Regions from separate parts of the Homo sapiens genome. Here all the other regions are linked to region 2. The links are contacts of gene promoters, found by promoter capture Hi-C in blood cells and fetal thymus (Javierre and others, 2016). All regions are on one chromosome and are shown on one strand. The core of a region is centred on a gene start or on the middle of the fragment in contact, and the rest is flanking DNA. Distances in the headings are between cores, read along the strand shown.

Region 1 (2,700 bases), core at 26-2,525, 2.0 Mb after region 2:
CATATCTGGTGTGTTATCTTTTTTTTTTTTGAATAAAGTTTTATTAGAAAGAGTAATGCCCATTCATTTTTTAATGTATTGTCTGTGGCTACTTTGCTGTATAATAGCAGAGTTGAGTAGTAGTGACAGAGACCAAATGGCCTGCAAAATAAAAAAATATCTGCTAACTGGCCATAGTTTGCCTTAGACCATTGCGTGCCAATGACTGAGAAGTAAGATGGAGTAGTTGTATTCAGATAATCTCAGTTGGTGTTTTATTATCGTAACTTGGGTGCTGGGCACAGAGAGGAGTTTTCTGTATTGAAATATATATAATATATGAGATCTTAAGAAAGGTAGTTTCGTTTCATGATCCCCGGATGGTGTATCTATGTGTGTGTGAACCAGAAGTGGCTCCTTGAATGGGTCAGGCAGATAACACAGCTTGTGTTTGCTGGTTCGAATGTATCATTTTAAGTTTGGTGAACAAGTTAAATTGAAAGCATTTTGGCAAACCAACACCGGATGAGAACTTGGCATTCTCCAGAATTAAGAATATTCCACTAAAAAAACCCCCATACAACCTTGATTTCATAAATGAATGTATTTCTGGCAGCTATTTTGATTGGAATGTGGTAGTTAAATGAAATATTTGTTTTAATTTACTGAAGGAAAAGCATTTGCTGATACTGTCTAGATTATGCCAACTTTCAAAATATGAAATTAAAGAAACCAATTTGAAAACTTTTTTTCACGTGAATCTGTAAGGAAATGTTTTCTGTAAGGACACATAAGAGCGACTCTTTGAGTTCATCAGTAGTGGATAAATAGAAACATAACATTTCAGAATTCTGAACCTAATATCTAGTTTAATGTAAGTGTGTATATTTTTTGTGTGTCCAAAGCACTTCAGAATGACAGTTTTCAGTTTAGTAATTATCCGCTGACATATTCTTAATTTTTTTTTTAAAGAGGCCTATTGCATTCTATTACAAAGTAAAAATTGAAGCTGTTTAGTTGTGAAGAGTGTTTGAAGAACTGCTTCATTTAGAAGGTGTTCATTATCACTGTGAGGTTATGCTAGTCAGGATGACTACTGTGGGCATATTCCAAATCTGTTGTAATTAAAAAGTTTTATAAATGATAATTTTTTTTTTTAGTAGTAATGCTGTTGTGTTAATTCACTAAAAGACATAATGTACCTGGATTCAATAGCCTTAGTAGCACACAGGACGGCAGAATCTGAATGGGCAGTTTGTGTCCTGCACAGAGGTACACAGCCAAGGGAAAAGTGGGCACTGAAATCCAGGCCAAGCTGTTTCCCTGTTAGCGGACTGTCTTCACAGAGGAAGGAGCTTCCTTTATAACAATTTATTTCTGTTATTTAATATGCATTATGTCTTATTACTATGCTAGGCACTGATTAGCACTTTTTATTCCACTCTCCTAACTTATTTTACAGATGAAAAAGCGAAGGCACTGAGAGAGGTTATCTAGTTACTAAGAGTCAGAGCCAGGGAGTCCAAACCCACCTGTGTGGCTCCACAATTCCAGGCTCTTAACCTCCGATACCACGTGGCTTCCTTTTTGTAATTTATTTTGCTAGAGTCTAATTTGCACAAAGGTACTGCAGAAGCTAGTGCTGGCGCTGATAATACACTTGAGTGCTAAGTTAGAAAGGGATGGGGCGCACGTAGAACAAACTTCAGCTCATTTGCCTAAGTGCCCACTAGAACTTCCTTGATGAATCACATATCCAGATTTTGTTTGAACATTGTCATTGATTTGCGCGATGGTTTCCCTTTATATTGAATAGGAAAAAAATACCTTTCTATAACTTCTGCCTACTACTTAAAATTTTGTCACACATAGCTGAGGCTCATTTGGGCTTTATGTGTTTTTTATGCATTTTCTTCTTTTTTTTGTTATTATGTTTTGAAGTCTTTTTAGGCCCCTTTCTGTTTATGGTGTCTTCATTATCATTGTCCTTACTTTTCTGTTCATTTTTGGGAGACAGATTGAGTTTATCTTTTGTTTGTCATCATTAATCTTAAAATTAGATTAATAAACCACTTAATTTAGTCCGATGTAGTATTAACATATTTCTCCCTCTAGTTCTGAACACCTCTCACTTTGCAATTTAGTATTTGAAAGAAGCGACTCTCCTGCCTTAGGTTAATAATTAGACCTGACTAGTAAAATTCTCCATCCTGTCCCTTCCCTTCCCACCCCCACCCAGTGGTTCTCAGTCCCCATTGGAATCACACACATGCACACACACACCCACACACTGACACGGGGTGGGTGGGGAGGATTTTAAATGCAAGTGATGTAGATCCTACCCTAGACCAATTACATCTGAGTGAGGGGCTCACCACGTCATAGTTAGGTTCTAATCTGGGGCATTTCTGTAGGACAGAGCTAATCAAAGACAGTCTTCTTGGCAGAGCCATTCTCATTTCTATTGGAAATGTGTTCAACTGAATGATTTGTGTGTTGTAGCCTAATTAGCTATTCAGATTCTTAATACCTTGAATCAGATATTCAAACCTTAGGAAGAGTGAGAAATCTATTAAGATGTAGGAATGTCAGTTTTCTTTTCTAACTTAAGTGCCAGTGTACCCACCTGTGTGGTCTTAGGCAACAAAGCTTGATATCCCCCCTTCATATTATTTCTTAGATCTTCGTTGCTGTTTCTACTGGTCCACCCCTCCTTCGGCC
Region 2 (2,700 bases), core at 143-2,642:
TAATCCCCTGAGATAACCTGGAATTTACCTACCCAAGTATTCTAAGGGGTTCTCCCCGGCCACACAAACTATGATTCAAAACATCGTTCCGAAAACCCAGGTCCTGCATGTGCACAAAGGCGCAGTGCTGGAATGAGGAAGCTTCACCAAGATGAAATCACAACTCTAATTCATTAAAGAATATGCAGACTGTTTTCTAGAAAGACCCTCTTGTTGCGCTCCCTTTACCCTACCCTTTATTTAACCATGTAAACAGTCTCAATTATTGACATAAAAAAATAGCTTTCGATTCCCAAGTCTGGTAACACGGTTGGCCACCATCACTATTCCTTTAGCATCCTAAAATAAACCCCTCGAGCCGAGGTCAAAAACACGCCGGCTGAACGTCTGGTGTTTACATAGCCCAATCCCGGGCCCTACCCTACCTTTCCGAGCCACTTAAGAGCCATGGAACAGGCATCACATAATACACTTAGTAAAGAGACAAGTCACATGAGTCAGTGTCTCAGGTCTATGAATGAAAGATCTAAGCGTTTGTCTCAGCTAAAAGGAAAAAACAACCTCGAAAGGAAGGGTGGGAGGGGAGCTGGCGGGGGTGAGGGGAGCGGTGTTCCTTCCATACCCCTGCCGGGCGATTTAAACCCAGTAAGAGGCAAACGCAGGGCCGCCAGGCTGGCGGGGCCGGAGTCCTCGGGCGTGACAGCCCCTCAAGAAAAGCTCGCGGTTTCGCGCCCGCGTCCCTTGAGCCGCAGTCCTCGCGGCAGCCCCTCCACCCGCGGGCTGGGTGGGCGTGCAGGGCGCGGGAGACAGAGCCACCGCGGCCGGGGCGGCGGCCCTGGGCGCACTTCCTCAACCTCCAGCCGCCCCGTCCCCAAAACTGGGAGTAGAAGCAAAGGAAGAGCGAGGCGGCAGCCAGAGAGAAAGGAGAGGGAGCGGCGAGCCCTCGCCTCTGCAGCTAGGAGAGGCCAGAGGCAGGCGAGGGAGAGGGTGCGGCGATCGCAGGCGAACTCCGCCGCGGGCCGACGCTGGGAGACGACCAGCCCGTAGCCTCCGCCCAACACGGCGGGCGCGCCCGGGAGTCTCCGGCACCCACCCGGTCCCCATTCCCACCGCACCCGCTACCGGCCAGTCCGCGCTCTACTCACGCTCGGGGCTCTTCCAGGCTCCGCGGCTCTAACCGCATCGGGTCCCAGCCCCGCGGGCGGCGGCGGCGGCGCCGAGGGAGAGGAGAGCGGGCGGCACGGCCCCCGCCTCCCGGCCCCTCTCCCCCGCCGCTCCGGAGCTGCCCGGCCGGGCCCGAGCCCTGCCTCGCCGGCGGCCCCAGCCCCAGTCCCAGCGGCCGCGGCAGCAGCAGCCCGACACCTCAGCGGCCGCAGCGGCGGCACCGGAACTGCCGCTTTCTACTTCTCGCTCCCTCTCCTCGCTAGCCCCCGCCACACGCCCCCGCCCCCGACTCCTTTCTCCGTCGCCCCTGTTTTTTTTTCCTTTTGTTTCCAGAATAAACTTTATTGGTCTCTTTTTCCGCTCACATCGTGTAAACAAACAACGAACTCTTCCCCACCCCCTCGGCCCCCCCCCTCCTCCGGCAGAAGAGGGTAAGAGCTGAGGAGGGGCAGAGCCTACAATCCCCCGGAAGCAGATGCGCAAAGAAGCGGAAGCGAAATTGAGGCGAGGAGGAGCAGGGAGTGGGCAAATAGGGTAACAATATGTGCTACTGCGCCTGCGTCTTGCTTTTCCGCCCGAAGTTTATGTACAGTTGGGGCTGCTCTTCTGACGTTTGTTTAATGATCCGTCTTCTGCAGTAGTGAGGGTGTTGTGTCATCCTAGGACAGCGTACGTGTAGTATATTTGTTTCTACGAGCAGCAGGCGAGCTGGGGTAGAGATATAGAAAGGAATATTGGGAGCAAGTGGGTTATTTCACTTTTACACCCATAGAGGAAACGAGATTAGTTCGGGGGTGAGAGGAGGTGCGGTGGCTAACCGCCGCTGTCAGTGGCTAACCAGCGTGGTTATGGATTCTATAATAGAAAGAATGCTTTTTACAAAGCGTTGCTGTGCGTTCTTCTGCCGACATGGTTTAAGTTGTATACCATCCCGAAGGCGGAATGCACTGTCACAGCCCTCTGCAGTCCTTTGACTCACTTCGTGGAGACCTTTTGCTATGCCCTCATTTTTTTTTTTAAATCGAATTCTGATTCGAAGCAGCTTGTAGGATTCAATTCTAACTATTCAGAAGACGTGGGGGATTTTTCGCGTAATGCCAACAGAGACTTCAGAAATGTCATATAGGCTATAGATTTGATTCAAGGTAGTGTCTTGGTGCTGCGTACCTTAGAAGTCTGTTTGCTTGAGAGTAAATCAATCTGTTGACTTTTGAGATTACTACTGATAAGGGTTCGGTACTGTGCGTTTTTCTCCCCCTACTGGTCTTTTGTTGTAATATTGGAAAAGCGTAGGAGCAGTGATTAGAAGTCTGAGATACAAGTACTCCAGCATCGGTTCCTCCTTGAATTTTTAAGTAATAGAGGGCTTGGGAAGTGACCCATCCTAGAGATGTTACAGTCCTACTTGTCCTCTAGAGCAAAACTCTGACCAATAACAGTCTTCTCGAACACCGCACGTCCGTCCATACCCCAATGGTAAATGAGATGGATCTGTTCCTCTTTGTGGTCGTAGTTTCACTTGACTGTATTTCTTTC
Region 3 (2,700 bases), core at 74-2,573, 2.1 Mb after region 2:
ACTTCAAACAAATTTATAAGCATTACATAAGTCAAGACACTTTCAAAACCTTGGCAGTAAATATGGCAATAAGATGGCTCAGTGTTTCATGCACTGTGCAACCACTTTCCAGGACCCTGAGATGAAAACAAAACAGTGATGTAGTCTTTTACTTTCTATCAGGAAACAGGAGCTCACTCTCTCCCTTAGCTTTATCCTTGACCATATTTTAACTGTTCAAGAGGAGTAGTAGAGTCTCTGAATGAATTTGAATCTGTACTTTCTCATTTATTAGTTGTGATTTTCCATTAGATTATAAAATAATAAAATTATATGTGTGTACACAGTATCTAGCATATGGTATAGGCCCTCTGTAAATGATGTCTTCTGTCTTGAAGTTTTCTTAAATCTCTTAAGCTGCTTGGCGTTTGGCTGTTTTTACTATGGATGATTTACTGTGAATTTATTCAGGGAGGGGTTATATAATTGAAAACAGGAATCTCCAACCTCACTGCTTAAGGATTTTACTGCTATGTCTCTCATTGTTTCTCCCCATCCTCCCTCATCCTTATTCTGTTTTCTGCCTTGGTGATCTGGAATCTACTCATATTCAGATAGTTGTGGGCTTCCTGATAGGGACAATTCAAAACGGTGCTTCTCCGCCCCCACCCCCCCACCCCCGCCCCGCCCCCCGATTGGTATCTCTGTGAGCCCAGATTAAGGTGAAAACTATGAAAACTATAAATGCATTTAATTATGATCTTGCTTATGGGCAAAATCAGGGGCTAAAATCAAGGTTTTAGAGGTAACATTTTTCCACTTGCCTTTTCCACTGTGGGTTAGATGTTGTGAGCATAATGAGTTAGGTGTTCCAAAGAGAGAAGGAAGGGGTTACAAGGAAAATCAACTTAGGTGTACTCTGACTATCAAATAACCAAATTTTCCTAGCCACATGCTAGGAAATTGTGAGCCCACAGTATTTTCTACTAGACTGTTTATAAGTACCACAAGGAGTATAAGAGTGGAAGCACAAAATCCAAAAAAGACATTACTAAACACTAAAAAACTAGGCTAGACAGGCTAGCCAACAGACATACTATATAGATTAAATCAGTTTAACCAAGACCCAAAATAAGCCTGTATTTATTTCCTTTGTTTAGTATAAATGTTTATTAATATTCTATATTACTTGTACAATTTAATTGAATTGTTTAAAATACTTCATAGAAATTACTACTTAATGATAAATGGTGATTAATATTTCAGTAAAGAAAATAACCACCCTTGGTTTATCAGCTTCTTAGAATTTTACCTTTGAATTTTGACTAGATATTAATAAAAAGCAAGGCCAACATAAAGAGATTTTTATTAAGTAAGTGCTTTGGTTTTAAGTATTTCAAGTTAAGAGTAAGTAATTGCTGATGGAGACCTATAAACCAGGTAATCATTTGCTAGCTGTTCATTTCTTAAATATTTCATATAGATGAGTTATTACTAAGTGGCAAAGAATTGGTATTTTTAAAGCACTTAATTCATACATAAAATGAGATTTAACCGTTATGATTTTTTAATATTTGAATTTATTTTTATTATTTTAGTTTTCCTAAGTAGTTCCAAAGAGCTCCAAAATACTGAATTTATCAGATGTTTGACAATTTATATGTAGAAATTTAAATACTTCAGATTTTACCTGAGTGCTAGATTGCTTTACAGACATTATTGAATTATAACTACGTAGTAGATAACAATTACATGAAGTAAATGAAGATCATTCAGAATGAATGAATTCCTATTTAAAGCATATTATGTGTACCACTTTTGAGAGATGCTGAATACTTGAACTGGGCTGGGATGAAAGAAAATTTGAAATAAAGTTCCTTAATTCTAGATGTAAAAAATATTAAAATATAATACAGAAATATTAAATGTCCCTTAATCTGTCTTGGCCTGATTTAAATGAAGCAATTTAATTATATGATTTCCAAAGACTTGTTTTACCTTTTACATTTGATGCTTTTTGTTAAGAAAAGTTGTGTACCATGACATTTTAGAAAATTTGAAGCTATATAATCAAGTATTTACTAGAAATTTTAAAGAGTACATTAAGAGAAAAAGAAAGTATGTAAAGGCTGACATGTTTACATGCACACACACGCGCGCGCACACACACACACACACACACACACACACGACCTTCGTCTGGGATTTTAAATGGGTAGGATGGGATTTGAAAAGATGATGGTGATCTTTCTTTCTGTGTCATTTAGCATGTTGCCACTAGGAAAATAAATTCTCATGCCTTTTCTTTTGTTTTTAGGATTTTCTCATTCAGCATTTACCTTTGGTATAGAAAGCCATATCAGTCAGTCCAATATAAATGGTGCCCTCGTCCCACCCGCTGCATTGATTTCTATCATCCAGAAAGGTCTACAGTATGTAGAAGCAGAAGTTAGTATTAATGAGGTAAGGAAGACTTATTTCAAATACTGATTTTTTTCATCTTAAATATGCCGTTAAGTCAGCTGTCTTGCTTGCTTATTCAGTATTCTGACTTTAGCTTCACAGGGTTAACAAAAGTGCAGGCAGTTCATCCCTAATGTGGTAGTCAGGTTGCACCGGCAAGGTGTTGGCGCCTAGTTGTAAGGACCATTATCTGTAGTTTGTTTGCCTTAATCTGTTTGTGTAAGTAAACACTAATAAAGAATTTTTATTAACACAACA

Evidence for each region. The method cuts DNA at HindIII sites, captures the fragments that hold promoters and counts their contacts. A CHiCAGO score of 5 or more calls a contact.
Region 1: a fragment that was not itself captured here is called in contact with the fragment with the promoter of PIK3CA in region 2 in 4 of 17 cell types (naive CD4 T cells, fetal thymus, naive B cells and 1 more); the score reaches 7.1 in naive CD4 T cells.
Region 3: a fragment that was not itself captured here is called in contact with the fragment with the promoter of PIK3CA in region 2 in 1 of 17 cell types (fetal thymus); the score reaches 9.0 in fetal thymus.

The regions. Positions count from the first base shown.
Region 1 is chr3:177,105,354-177,108,053 of GRCh38, reverse strand. The region is part of intron 1 of TBL1XR1 (TBL1X/Y related 1); the gene reads left to right. Among named protein-coding and RNA genes, the nearest start is that of TBL1XR1-AS1, 69 kb to the right of the region's middle. The HindIII fragment of the contact is 2,710 bases long and covers 1-2,630 here.
Region 2 is chr3:179,147,049-179,149,748 of GRCh38, reverse strand. PIK3CA (phosphatidylinositol-4,5-bisphosphate 3-kinase catalytic subunit alpha) reads right to left here and starts at 1,392. Exons shown (of 21, transcript NM_006218.4): 1 at 1,146-1,392. It overlaps PIK3CA-DT (PIK3CA divergent transcript), which reads left to right and starts at 1,776. Exons shown (of 3, transcript NR_125401.1): 1 at 1,776-1,833. RefSeq lists silencers at 768-817, 878-1,347 and enhancers at 529-1,028, 1,838-1,957, 2,568-2,677. The HindIII fragment of the contact is 3,906 bases long and covers 144-2,700 here.
Region 3 is chr3:177,053,515-177,056,214 of GRCh38, reverse strand. It overlaps TBL1XR1 (TBL1X/Y related 1), which reads left to right. Exons shown (of 16, transcript NM_024665.7): 4 at 2,297-2,442. Among named protein-coding and RNA genes, the nearest start is that of TBL1XR1-AS1, 17 kb to the right of the region's middle. The HindIII fragment of the contact is 6,510 bases long and covers 1-2,700 here.